Regions from separate parts of the Homo sapiens genome. Here regions 2, 3, 4 and 5 are each linked to region 1. Evidence: promoter capture Hi-C in 16 types of primary human blood cells and fetal thymus (Javierre and others, 2016). All regions are on one chromosome and are shown on one strand. The core of a region is centred on a gene start or on the middle of the fragment in contact, and the rest is flanking DNA. Distances in the headings are between cores, read along the strand shown.

Evidence for each region. The method cuts DNA at HindIII sites, captures the fragments that hold promoters and counts their contacts. A CHiCAGO score of 5 or more calls a contact.
Region 2: a fragment that was not itself captured here is called in contact with the fragment with the promoter of TRMT6 in region 1 in 1 of 17 cell types (naive CD4 T cells); the score reaches 5.6 in naive CD4 T cells.
Region 3: a contact is called between a fragment that was not itself captured here and the fragment with the promoter of TRMT6 in region 1, in 3 of 17 cell types (naive CD4 T cells, monocytes and fetal thymus). The highest score is 5.4, in naive CD4 T cells.
Region 4: a fragment that was not itself captured here is called in contact with the fragment with the promoter of TRMT6 in region 1 in 5 of 17 cell types (naive B cells, total B cells, fetal thymus and 2 more); the score reaches 7.3 in naive B cells.
Region 5: a contact is called between a fragment that was not itself captured here and the fragment with the promoter of TRMT6 in region 1, in 16 of 17 cell types (naive B cells, naive CD4 T cells, naive CD8 T cells and 13 more). The highest score is 20.1, in naive B cells.

What each region holds. Positions count from the first base shown.
Region 1 is chr20:5,949,183-5,951,882 of GRCh38, forward strand. TRMT6 (tRNA methyltransferase 6 non-catalytic subunit) reads right to left here and starts at 1,351. Exons shown (of 11, transcript NM_015939.5): 1 at 1,096-1,351. The coding sequence starts at 1,223. MCM8 (minichromosome maintenance 8 homologous recombination repair factor) reads left to right here and starts at 1,470. Exons shown (of 19, transcript NM_032485.6): 1 at 1,470-1,841. RefSeq lists an enhancer at 1,347-1,486. The HindIII fragment of the contact is 3,685 bases long and covers 1-2,700 here.
Region 2 is chr20:5,634,381-5,637,080 of GRCh38, forward strand. No RefSeq gene overlaps it. Among named protein-coding and RNA genes, the nearest start is that of GPCPD1, 25 kb to the left of the region's middle. The HindIII fragment of the contact is 1,174 bases long and covers 678-1,851 here.
Region 3 is chr20:5,685,908-5,688,607 of GRCh38, forward strand. No RefSeq gene overlaps it. Among named protein-coding and RNA genes, the nearest start is that of SHLD1, 63 kb to the right of the region's middle. RefSeq lists an enhancer at 2,197-2,697. The HindIII fragment of the contact is 3,496 bases long and covers 1-2,700 here.
Region 4 is chr20:5,667,431-5,670,130 of GRCh38, forward strand. No RefSeq gene overlaps it. Among named protein-coding and RNA genes, the nearest start is that of GPCPD1, 58 kb to the left of the region's middle. The HindIII fragment of the contact is 1,203 bases long and covers 831-2,033 here.
Region 5 is chr20:5,576,803-5,579,502 of GRCh38, forward strand. It overlaps GPCPD1 (glycerophosphocholine phosphodiesterase 1), which reads right to left. Exons shown (of 20, transcript NM_019593.5): 8 at 1,578-1,809. Among named protein-coding and RNA genes, the nearest start is that of GPCPD1, 33 kb to the right of the region's middle. The HindIII fragment of the contact is 328 bases long and covers 1,113-1,440 here.

The DNA.
Region 1 (2,700 bases), core at 101-2,600:
TCTCTACTAAAAATACAAAAAAAAAAAAAAAAGATTAGCCGAGTGTGATGGTGCCAGAGTCCCAGCCACTAGGGAGGCTGAGGCAGGAGAATCGCTTGAACCTCGGAGGCAGAGGCTGCAATGAGCCGAGATTGCACTACTGCCCTAAAGCCTGGGTGACAAAGCAAGACTCCGTCTCAAAAACAAAAACACTGTGGTTGTATTTCTCAGATAAATTAATCCAAATATCCCAATAAATTTTCACCATTAATAAGCTCTTAGGACTTAACAACCTCACCAGCCCTTCCAGAAAGTTATCAAAATCCCACTTCTTTACTTCTATAAAACAGAGCGATACTAGCCAGCAGGTGCACAAACCAAACCTAATTTGGAGTTCTGAGGCCTTGAGCAAATTGCTTTTTAGCAATTTTCCCAGCGTTGAATCCTTTGGTGAGTAAAACGAGGGAAACTCAAAGTGATTCCACACTCTGTGGTGAATTGTCTCCTTCATCTATTCTGTGTATCCTGCTTGGGTAGAGAAGAGGATAGAAAGCCAGACTAGGTAGGAGACGTTTCATTTTTTGTGGGATAGATCCTGACTGGGGGATTAGGGAAGAAGGAGGATCTATGGTGGAAAAAAAGGGGGAACCTGAAGGAGACTCTGGAGACAAGGATGAGATCCTAAAGTGAAGAAAGGAGGGGGTGTCTCTGGAAAGACAGTGAAGATCCCAAGGTCCTAGGGAAAGAACTTCAGGACAGGTGATTAGGGTGTGGAGAGGGAGGCATTGGCACCCTAGGGCCAAGAATGGAATTCTGGGGAAGGAACTCTGTGGAAAGACTGAAAAGGATGCTGAAGGTGGACGGCCAGATATGAAATCATGGAGGGGGCTCCGGGAAAAACAGGAGGGTTAAGGGAGATTATGAGGTTCGAAGACGGGATCCTGGTGGAAAAGCCTTCTGTGACAGAAAGACCCGAGGAGACAACGAGGGCGGGGAATGGGGACCGAGAGAGCCAAGAATGGCACCCTGGCGGAAGAATTCTGTGGAGAAACCTGGAGGGAGGGGGTATCTACAAGGTGGGGGCGGGAGACCCCTAAAATCAGCGATCTGACTTACTTTCTCCGCTGGACTTGTACTGCTTTAAACACATCTTCACGTTTCAGCACCACGAAGTCGCCGTCGCGGATGCGGTGGTCTCCGGGATGCTGTGGTTGTGGGCCCGGCTGCTCCCCTGAGCCCTCCATGACGCTCAGCCGGTCGCCGTGCTCCACGGCGTCCCGCCCCTCCTCCTCGGTTGTCGCCACCGCCAGCCTCACTTCCCACAACCTGGCGCACTAGGAGCCCTCCGACCGGCACCGCCCCCACGTGTTGCACGCCGCTTCCGCTTTCCGGCCCAGACCTCAAGACCGCTTCCGGAAGCCTCTCGGCTTCCGTCTGGCCAAACTCCTTGATTGGCTGCACTCCGCCCCGCCCCTCTCGTCTTGCCGCTTCTTTGAGCGGAAGTTGGATCACTGAAGCGCCAAAAAAGAATTTAGGGGAAGACCTGATTTTCGCTTGAGGCATTTTTGCGGCGCTGTGCGCTACAGACACCTTCTGGAAGCTGCGGTGGGGAAACTGAGTTTCCCGAGCCGTTGAGACAGATGGGGTTCAGCACCGCGCGGGGACGACAGGAAAGCTGCGGCTGAAGAGAACTGCGGACTTGGCAGGAGTCGCCTGAGGAGCTAAGATCCCGGAGACTCTTAGCCCCGTGGTGCTTCTCTACGGGAGGGAGGGAGGGAGAATCCGGCCGGACAGATCTGCGCGTATCCTGGAGCCGGCCCAGTTGTGAACTAGGAGAGCTTTGGGACCTCTGTCCCAAGCAAGTAAGAACTTTAGCCTTAGGAGATGTAAATAAAGTAGTATTTGAAGAAGCACAGGTACCCAACTGTTTCTTTTTACTCTTTCTCCAGTCCTACTTCTTAACGTTTTTTTGAATTTGTTACTGTTCTCAGCATATTGTCTCGTTTGAGAAGGGTATGGCACGCAGCGTTGTTGAAGGAGCGCCTCAGCTTGGGAGGCTGAAAGTTTTATCTCTGTACTGTCGACAAACAACTTTGATCTTGATCGGTTTGCTTAATTTCTTTGAGCATCAGTTTCATAATGTGTAATGCCTAATTATTGGAGCCCTGTCATGCCGTTAAATCGTGAACTTTCTAGTTACTATCTTGTTTTATTAACTAAACCCCTTTTAAGTAAGGATTTGGGTAGAGTATTTGATAATGAATTGCACTGCAGCGTACAGGTATATCTTTATTTACTTGTATACTTAGGATATGAATCATTTTTAAGTAGACGTGTATTTTATAAGAACAGTTTTGGATTTACAGAAAAACTGCACAAAAAATGGATGTGACACTGCAGGATTGACTGTATGTAAGAAGCTATGATGATGTATCCCTAGTGTCTCACAGGCCAGAATTATGTTCATCCTGTCCTGCCCTATAATAAGAAGTCTCAAATACTGCAAATAAGTTTTCATAGAGTTAATTACCTGTCCTATTTTCATTTCTGTAATGGGGACTTGTAAACAGGTACAGTACCTGTCCTTATTTTTAACCTGTGAGCGTCTAGTATACGTAAACCATATTTAATAGTTATTAAACTATTATGGTATACCTTAAAAAGCGATAGAGATTAGAAACTTAACTGCAGAATATTTGGGTCTTGTATCATAGCTGTACA
Region 2 (2,700 bases), core at 15-2,514, 310 kb before region 1:
GATCCCACCTCTGCTTCTTTTCCCCCAGATATCTCCTGTCATATTTGTTTTTTACCAGGCTGAGTGTTCCTAAAGGCTTCCCTTGCATTGACTATGGAGCTCACAGCAATTTTTTTGTTGCTTGGAAATGGCTACTCCTCTGTAAGGGTGTGTTTCAGGAAAAACTCTCCCAAACTGTGCTTTTCCACTGTGCTCACACCACCACAACGATCGTCAACACAGAAGAACACTTCTGTGGCCAAATATGTGGGAGTTTTTCCCCATACACCAAGCAGCCGACACCAGGTGGGGGCCCTACAATTTCATTCTGACATTATCTACTTGGAGATAGCATCAGATCCCATGGGTTGAGGTCTCAGTCCCCAACACTGCCTCCCTTGCAGAAGACATCAGTTGCAAGTCTCTGCCACTGGAATTTCGGACCTACCAACAACAAGTTGAAGTCTCCACGACCCCCAATTTGGGTTCCTTTAATTTGCTAGAGAGGCTCACAGGACCCAGGGAAACAGCGATGTTTACCAGTTTATTATTATAAAGGATACAGATGAAGGGATGCACAGATATGAAGAAAGGGGTGCGGAGCTTCCATGCCCTCCCTGGGTGCACCACCCTCTAGAAATCTCCACACGTTCAGCCATCCCGAAGCTCTCCAAACCAATCCTCTGTGTTTCTATGAAAGCTTCATGGCCTCAGCATTCCTTCTGTCAGAGGCATTTGAACCAGAGCAACTCCATCTTGAATATGAGCTGGGTAAAAAAGGCTGACACCTACTGGGCTGCATTCCCAGATGGTTAGGCATTCTAAGTCACGGGATGAGATGGGAGATCAGCACAAGATACAGGTCATAAAGACCTTTCTGATAAAACAGTTTGTCGTAAAGAAGCCAGCTTAAACTCACCAAAACCAAGATGGCAATGAGAGTGACCTCTGGTCATCCTCACTGCTACACTCCCATCAGTGCCACGACAGTTTACAAATGCCATGGCAACATCAGGAAGTAACCCTATATGGCCTAAGAAGGGGAGGAATGAAGAACCACATTCATGCTTTTGTTTAGCATATATTCATATACATGTTTAGCATATATGCTTTTGTTTAGCATATATTCAAGAAATAACCATAAAAATGGGCAACCAGGGCTGGGCGCGGTGGATCGTGCCTGTGATCCCAGCACTTTGGGAGGCCGAGGCGGGTGGATCACGAGGTCAGCAGAGGTGGAGCTTGCAGTGAGCCAAGATTGCAGCACTGCACTCCAGCCTGGGCAACAGAGCCAGACTCTGTCTCTAAAAAAAAAAAAAAAAAAAAAAAAAAAAAAAAAAAAAGGGCAACTAGCCAGGCGTGGTGGCTCATGCCTGTAATTCCAGCACTTTGGGAGGCCAAGGCAAGTGGATCACCTGAGGTCAGGAGTTCGAGACCAGCCTGATCAATATGGAGAAACCCGTCTCTACTAAAAATACAGAATTAGCTGGGTGTGGTGGCACATGCCTGTAATCCCAGCTACTCGGGAGGCTGAGGCAGGAGAATTGCTTGAAACCGCGAGGCGGAGGTTGCGGTAAGCCGAGATCACGCCATTGCACTCTAGCCTGGGCAACAAGAGCAAAACTCCACCTCAGAAAAGGCAACCAGCAGACCAGCAGACCTTGGGGCTGCTCTGCCTATGGAGTAGCCATTCTTTCGTTCCTGCTTTCACTTTATTCTGTGGACTTGCTTCAAATTCTTTCTTGCCCGAGATCAACCCCCTCTTGGGGTCTGGATCCGGACCCTTTACCAGTAACACTCGAGTGTATAGGGCAGGACTGACCCTGGGGAGGGTCCTAAGGCCCACTGCACCCGGCCTCCATGGGTTTTAAAAGCTTCCAGCACTCTAGGCTGGGCACAGTGGCGAGCACCTGTAGTCTCAGCTATTCCGGAGGCGGAGGCACAAGAATGGCTGAACCCAGGAGGCGGAGGTTGCAGTGAGTCGAGATAGCAGCACTACATTCCAGCCTGGGCCACATAGCAAGACTCATCTCAAGAAAAAAACAAACAAAAAAAAAAACAAAAAAAAACCCTCCAGCATTCTAAGAAAAATGTTAACAATAAAGATAATGTGGGGCTTTACTTTGGGAGGCTGAGTTGAGAGGATTACTTGAAATCAGGAATTCAAGACCAGCTGGGCAACAAAATGAAACCCCATGTCAACAACAACAATCAAAAATCAAAAAATTAGCCAGGCCTGATGGCACATGCCTGTGGTCCCAGCTACATGGGAGGTTGAGGCAGGAGAATTGCTGGAGCCTGGGAGATCGAGACTGCACTGAGCCGTGATAGTGCCACTGTGCTCCAGCCTGGGTGACAGAGCAAGACTCTGTCTTAAACAAACAAATGAAGAAGATGTGGATGTTCCTGCAGGGGCCAAGGCCCTCGGCCCCCTGGAGATTTGAAAACCACTGACAGGCAGATTAATTGGAGAAAGGCATACAAATTTATTTGACATGTATACACGGGAGCCTTCAGAATGAAAACTCAAAGATACAGGAAAAAATGTCGATTTTTATGCTTGGGTTCAACAAAGTATGGACAGCCAGGTAACTGGAAAAAAAGGGCAAGATCTAATGTTAATAGACTGAATGAGGAGCCCAGCAAGGCCTGTCTGTCTAGATTCCTGGCCTCTCCGAGTAGCACTACTTCCTTCTGGGTGTGGGGCAAGACCCTCTCTGG
Region 3 (2,700 bases), core at 201-2,700, 260 kb before region 1:
AAACTGAATTATTAATTCTGTCACCCAGGCTGGAGTGCAGTGACATGACCTTGGCTCACTGCAACCTCCGCCTCCCAGGTTCGAGGGATTCTCCTGCCTCAGCCTCCGGAGTAGCTGGGATTACAGATGCCCACCACCAGGCCCGGCTACTTTTTGTATTTTTAGTAGAGACAGGGTTTTCACCATGTTGTCCAGGCTGGTCTCGAAATTCCTGACCACAGGTGATCCGCCCACCTCGGCCTCCCAAAGTGCTGGGATTACAGGTGTTAGCCACCGTGCCCAGGCTAAATGATTAATTTTATCTAATTTTAATTAATTTAAATTTACATGTACATTGCCACATGTGGCTATAGCTATTGCATGAGACAGTGCAGACTTAAGACTTTGGCCTGGCACCGTGGCTCACACCTGTAATTCCAGCACTTCGGGAGGCAAAGACAGGAGGATCACTTGCGCCTGGGAGTTCAAGACCAGCCTAGGCAACCTAGTGAGATCCTGTCTCCATAAGAAATTGAATTAGTTGAGCACGGTGATGCACATCTGTAGTCCCGGCTACTCTGAAGGCCAAGGTGAGAGGATCACTTGAGCCCAGGAGGTCAAGGCTGCAGTGAGCCGTGATCGCACCACTGCACCCCGGCCTGGGTGGCAGAATGAGAACCTGTCTCTCAACAAAACGAAACAAACATTGCTTAACACATAGGGAGCATTCAACAAGGGTTAGCTAAGTGTCAAATTGCTACAGCCAGAGTGGCAGAAGAAGACTCAACCCAGAAGTCGAAGAAAATGAGAAAACGTCTAGATTTGAAGGAATGACCTCCCACAGAGCATTGCCCCCCTTCACTTTACCTTCAGGTAACGGCTTCGAAGAGAAGATCTGCAACCATCTAAAGGAAACGTTGGGGATGTTTTGTTCCTCTTAGTCACCTTTGCTTGGGTAGGAAGTCACTCCTCACATAGAAAGACTTGGCCATGGGCAGCAGCGCAGGTGGGAGGCATATGGGTGCGCACTCACCTCACCTTCCAGTTCAGCACAGGCTCCCTTTACACCCTAGCTGCCCCGTGTCCTCATGCTGAGCCCACGGCAGATCTTTGTCCTGTCCAGGACTTCATCCTCCTTGCCTCTAGATCTCCAGTGTCAAGTTAGCATCTGCATCAGTTTCCCAGGGCTGCCATAACAAAGTGTCACAATCTGAGTGGCTTCTCTGACAGTTCTGGAGACCAGAAGTCAAGGTGTAGGCAGGACCGTGTGCTCTGAATGTTCTAGGGGGAGAATCTATTCCATGCCTTTTTCTTAGCTTCTGGGCATTCCTGGGTTCTTGCGTGTATTGCTCCAATCTCTATTCCTGTCATCACAACAGGGCACTCTCTTTGAGTGTCTGTGTTTCCTTTTGTGTCTGTGTCTTGTGTTACTTCTCTCTCTCTCTCTTTTTTTTTTTTTTTTTTTTTTGAGACAGGGTCTTACTCTGTCACCCAGGCTGGAGTAGTACAGTGGCGTGAACTTGGCTCACTGCAACCTCTGCCTCCTGGGCTCAAGCGATCCTCCCACCTCAGCCTCCTGAGTAGCTGGGACTACGGGTGCATGCCACCACACCTGGCTAATTTTTGTATTCTTGGTAGAGATGGGGTTTCACCATGTTGCCCAGGCTGGTCTTGAACTCCTGAGCTCAAGTGATCCACCCACCTTGGCCTCCCAAAGTGCTGGAATTACAGGCATGAGCCACTGCACCTGGCCTCTTCCCCTCTTACAAAGACACCAGTCATATTGGATTAGGGCCCATTTAATCCAGTATGACCTCATCTTAACCTGATTGCATCTGCAGGGACCCTATTTCCAAATAAGATCACATTCACAGGTCCCAGGGGTTGGGACCTTAACATATCTGCTTGAGGGACGCAGTTTAGCCCACAACAGTTACCATTCCGTCGTGGGCTTATTTTCTGCTGGGTGGCAGCTACTTTATCTGTCACAGTTTTGAGGAGGACACTTGTCATTCTGTGTGCCTGGTATCCTTCTCCTGAGAATAACTGAGCTGCTGCTAACATGAAGATGGTTTAGGGCAAAAATTTTAAAAAGGCACTCCCTTTGGGTAGACAAATTGCAAAATTCGTGCCCACTCCATGTGATGAATTACAGACAGTTTGCACCTTCCCCTTCCTGCTCATGCAAGGAAGTGTTGCGCCCTTCCTCTTTCCCTTTGTGTCTGCTTGGAATTGGGTCTGATTGGAATTGGGTTTCGTCACTTGCAACCAAAGAATCCTGACTGACATAGATGGTACTTGGCGCCATGAATTAATGTGTTGCCTCTCATAACTAATTTCCTGGAGGTAATCCATTCACTTGAATGAAGATTGGAGCACTGTGACCAGCAGTGCAACTTTATGGCTTTGGCTGTTAGGGATCTCCATGCCCCCTAGGTCCAGTTTAGGCTGCTCCCTGTTAGACCTGTAGCAGGTGCTCTTCTTGCCCACCATGTCCCCTCACTCTGACCTCTCCATCGGGCGGGGCCCTACTCATGGCCCCTTGGAAGTAGGGGCCCTTATTTCCTCACAAGAGGAAGCCAGCTGCTCAAGGGCTTCCTCTTGCTGCCAGAGCCCACTTTACCCCCAACGTGGCAGGCCAGAGTGTCCAGGACTTGGCCCCACACCGGAAGCAGCCCTTGCTGCCTGACTGATGGGGGGTGGTATGTTCAACACTCCAGC
Region 4 (2,700 bases), core at 182-2,681, 280 kb before region 1:
GTCAATTCCCTAATCCTTGGTTTTAGACCTGCGCAAGCTACATTACCTAGTAAAGGGGACTTTGCAAATGCAATTAAATTTATGGACTTTTGGGTTAGGAAATTATCCTGGACTGTCTGGACAGGTCTAACGTAGTTACATGGGCCCTTAAAAGTAGAAAAGAAACTTTGGGAGGCTGAGATGGGCAGATCGCTTGAGCCCAAGAGTTCAGGACCAGCCTGGGCACCATGGCAAAATCCTGACTCTAGGGGAGGTTCAAAGCATGAAAGGGACTTGCCTACCATTGTTGGCTTTGAATTAGAGGAAGGGGGCCATAAGCCAAGGGACAGCCTCTAGAAGCAGGGAACAGCCCTCACTCACAGCCAGCAAGGGGACCTCAGTTCTACAGCCGAAAGGGACTGAATTCTGCCAATAGCCTGAATGAGTAAAGAAACAGCTTCTCCTCATAGAGCCTCCAGAAAGGAGCGCTGGTATCTCACTGTGGTTTCAATTTGCATTTCCCTGGTGATTAGTGATGTTGAGCGTCTTTTCATGTGCTTGTTGGCCATTCGTATGTCTTCTTTGGAGAAATGTTTATTTGCCCATGTTTACTGGGGTTGTTTGTTTTGTTGTAGGAATCCTTCATATGGCTTGCATATCAACCCTTTATTATATATATAATTTCAAATATTTTCTCCCATTCTGTAGGCTACCTCTTCAGTCTTTTGATAGTGTCTTTTGAGGCACAGAAATTTCAAATTTTGGTGTAACCTAATTTATCTATTTTTACTTTTGTTGCCTGTACTTTTGGCATGATATCTAAGAAATTATTGTGAAATCCAATGTTATGAAGCTTTCTCCCTAAATTTTCTTCCAAGAGTTTTATAGTTGGGAGAGTTTTAAGCAGTGAAGTGCTATATGGGAGGCTGGACAGGGCAGGGATGTGGGAAGCTGATTGTGTTGAAAGTCCCAGTCTTCATCCCTCCCCTCATCTACATGCTTTGCTGTCACATTGCAGCTCCACCCAACAAGAGGCAACATGCACTTTCCTACCACTTGACTTTATTTCAGCCATGTACTTGGTAAAGACTTTCTACTCTGACTCTGGGCTTGACCATATGACTTGCTTTGGCCCATATAATGAGACAGAAGTGATGGCACAGCAGTTCCAAGCCAAGGCTTCAAGGAGCCTTGCAGGTTTCCACTTGCTATCTTGTGCTTCTGCCATCGTCCCGAGAACCTGCCCAGGCGAGCCCGCTGGAGGATGAGAAACACACAGAGCAGAGCTGAATAGCCTCAGTCAACTCAACCAGCTGATCCCCAGACATGGGCGTGAGCCATCAGCTGGTCCCCAGTTAACCCCAGAGGCATTAGTATTGCAGGCCACTGAGGTTTTGTGGCTGTTTCTTATGAAATGTACTCCATAATATCCAATAAGGATATTCAGTAAGGATGATATGGCATTGGATAACTGATACAGCGAGCAGATTGGAAGCAGAGAGATGTGTTGGGAGGATATTACAATAATTCAGGTGAGAGATGATAGCTGTGAAGGTGATGACAAGAGGTTGGATTCTGGATGTATCTTGAAGGTGGTGCTGATGGATTTGCTCTCACATTGGAAATAGGGTATGGGGAAGAGAGACCAGCTGAGGATCACTCCATGGGTTTTGAGCATCTGGAAGGATGAAATTGCCACTAGCTGTGGTAGGATGACTGCAGGAGGAGCAGGTTTGGGGAGGCTATCAGGGACTCAGTTTTGAATATTCACACATTCAGGGATTTTGGGAGAGTTGACACATATCCCTGGACTTTGGGAGTGCTCATAAAGCCAGAGGCTGGCAGTGCTTCTTGAATGAAAAACTGTGAAAAGGGGAGGCCTGATGAAGCAGCCTGTTGTGGATAAGCATGCCCCACAAGGAAAGGATGAGGGCTTTCCCTTTGCCTGAGGGCAGGAAGAGTGCATCAAGGGTCCCACGCCTCCTTATGAAGGAGCATAAAGTGGAGTGGTGGGTGGATACCTAGGGCTGCCCAGGTGGTGTCCAGCAAAGAGAAGCTTCCCCCGGAGAAAGGCTAGAGTACAGAGGCTGGTAGAGGCTGAGGGGAGACCTGACTGCCTTTGCCTGAGGGATGACCTCAGGAGTAGAAAGGGCTCACATGAAGTCATGTGGCATTCCGAAAGAATGGCACTCACCATCTCAGCGGAGCCCACCGCCTCTATGGGGGCCTCCAGCTGCAGAGCCCAGCCTGAGAGAATCCTCCTAGGAGGGCAGTCAAGGAGGAGGTCAGAGCCTCTTCTCCTCATGAATGCCAACGGTGGAGAACTAGGCTGGAAAGGGCACCTGGGCGAGGTGGGGAACAGGGAGAATCCTGGAACATAGATTTCCAGCTCTCGGAGAGGAAGAGTCTAACTTTTTTTTTTGAGACAGAGTCTCGCCCTGTCACCCAGGCTGGAGGGCAGGGGTTGCAGTTAGCCAAGATCACACCACTGCACTCTAGCCTGAGTGACAGAGTGAGACTCGGTCTCAATAAACAAAAAAACAAGAAGAAGTTGGTGTGAATTTGAGAGCTGTATTGTTAAGGCTCCAGTAGCATCTATTGTAGATATCACTGAGGGATGGGAAGGGGGATTCAAAGAGCATGGTAGAAAATGCAATTAGAGAAAATAGAATTTTCTTTTTTTCCACACGCACTAGATTGAATGAAAATAGTTTTCAAAAC
Region 5 (2,700 bases), core at 27-2,526, 370 kb before region 1:
AGTCTATGAACAAAACACTATTACAAAAAATGTTAAACAAAGTAAAGGGAAGGTAGGACATTCAAGATATAATTTATTAAAAGGTAGGTTTATTAAAAGGAAGCAACAAGAAAATGTTCAGGCCAGGAGCAGAGGCTCACACCTGCAATCTCAGCACTTTGAGGGGCCGAGGCAGGAGGATCGCTTGAGCCCAGGAGTTCAAGACCAGCCTGGGCAACAAAGACCCCATCTCAACAACAAAAAAAAAGTTGTTTTTTTTTTTGTTTTTTTTTTTTTTTCTGAGATGGAGTCTTGCTCTGTCACTCAGGCTGGAGTGCAGTGGTGTGATCTTGGCTCACTGCAACCTCCGCCTCCCAGGTTCAAGCAATTCTCCTGCCTCAGCCTCTCGAGTAGCTGGGATTACAGTCACGCGCCAACACGCCTGGCTAATTTTTGTATTCTTACTCTTGACCTCGTGATCCGCCTGCTTTGGCCTCCCAAAGTGCTGGGATTACAAGCATGAGCCACCGCGCCCGGCCAAAAACGTTTTTTTTAAATTAGCTGGGTGTGGTGGTACACACCTGTAGTCCCAGCTACTTGAGAGGCTGAGGCATGAGGATCACTTGCACCCAGGAGATTGAGGCTGCAGTGAGCCCTGATCATGTCACTATACTCCAGACTGCGCAACAGAGCAAGACCCTCTCTCCAGAAAAAAAAAAAAAAGGAAAAGAAGAAAGGAAAGAAAAAGAAAGAAAGAAGTCATCAAAATTTCATACTTTTATAATAGAGTCCCACAGATCTTACTGCTTACTGGATTAGATTTTTTTAAATCCATTCTGAATTCTGTTGTTCTCAAGAAACTGGCTGGGGGCTACTGGTGGTCAAGACATATTCCCTACCCTCCAAGATTTAAACTCTAATCTAGTATAAATGGGTGTGGAGGTGGAGCTAGAGGGTAAGGAAACCACTACATACCACTACCGAGCCAGGCCCACAGCAGTAAGGACCTTAGGGGATGTACCAAGTATTATGTGTTGGGGAAATATGAACAGCCAGTGGTCTACAAGCACTAGTGTAAGTATCACATGTAGCTCCAGAAAGTTAGCAGCACAGATTGTCAATAACCTGGCACAAGCTTTATAATTTCATTACATATTTACAATATCAAGTTGCAAGTCAGTCCCATCAACAAATCCTAATAAAGTACCTCAATAAATGACAGGCTTCCATCATAGTGAGAACTCAATCACGCTTGTTACATCGGGATGCCCGCCAAGAGGTACAAAGCCTGCCCTGGTCTCTATTTACCACTGATGTTTCCTTTGGATACAATTCATTTACATTTAGATTATTTAGCATACAGGCATCAAAGACATCTGGTCTTGATTGGAAACATCAATACTGCTGTTCTCTTAATTATATTCTTAATAGTACTTGAAGATGACAACTCTAAGTTTTTTAAGCTTAACTGTACAGAAGAGCATACCTCTAAAAAGTTAGCTTTACACAAATTAGATTAAAATGAAAATCAAAACCAACGTTAAAATAAGCTTGTCCCTGCATTCTTTCTCAATCCCCTCACTGCAGTAACTACTCACTTCGAAAAAATCAAAGATTAGTTCCAGGTTATCTGGTTCCATCGTCTGTATGCTGTACTCTGTCCAACGATCAGGCTGCAAGCCATAACCACACTCCGGCTGTGAATGCCTGCACTTGAACTCATTGTCGCTTATTAAGGATATCTCCAAGCTATTGGACATTTTGTGGAGTACAGTGGGAGATACCCTATCATCGTCATCTTCCTCCAGGCCTTCTAGTGTCAGCTTCACCCTACGTAATAAACAAAATAATGAGATGCAAGAAGTGGCAGAAAAGAAAAACTCATACAAATGTTGCCTAAATTCTACATTTTAAAGTGCCCCCAAATATGCTAAATCTTCGAATAACAAAAATAATGTATTATGCAAAGATTACACATACTACAGGTTAAGGAATTAGGTGTGTTTTATAAAATACTGATGTTATTATCTACACATATTTTTGCAAAGTATTAAAATGGGATAAATGACCATTATGCCTACTAAGGTTGTTGATTCTTTCATTAAAAAAAAATAAATAAATCTAGGGCTGGGCCAGTGGCTCACGCCTGTAATCCCAGAACTTTGGGAAGCTGACGCGGGAGGATTGCTTGAGCTCAGAAGTCTGAGACCAGCCTAGGCAACATGGTGAAACCCCATCTGCAAAAAATATAAAAATTATTCAGGCATGTGTCACATGCCTGTAGTCCCAGCTACTCGGGAGGCTGAGGTGGGAGGATCACTTGAGCGTGAGAGGTGGAGGTTGCAGTGAGCCGAGATTGCACCACTGTACTCCAACCTGGGTGACACGGCCAGACCCTCTCTCAAAAGAAAAAATATATATATTATTAAACACATATAATATTCAAAAATTTTTTCCTGTGTGGAAAATTTTTCATTTTCAAGACACAATAAAATTTAGAACACTGAAGAATACTTCCAAAAAATATTTTCTCTTTATGGCATTCTTATGTAGCAGACAATCATTTCCATTATATCAATTTTTTCTTTTTTTGAGACAGAGTCTCGCTCTGCCTGGAATGCAGTGGTGCGATCTCGGCTCACTGCAACTTCCGCCTTCCGGGTTCAAGCGATTCTCCTGCCTCAGCCTCCCAAGCAGCTGGGATTACAGGCGCCCAACAGC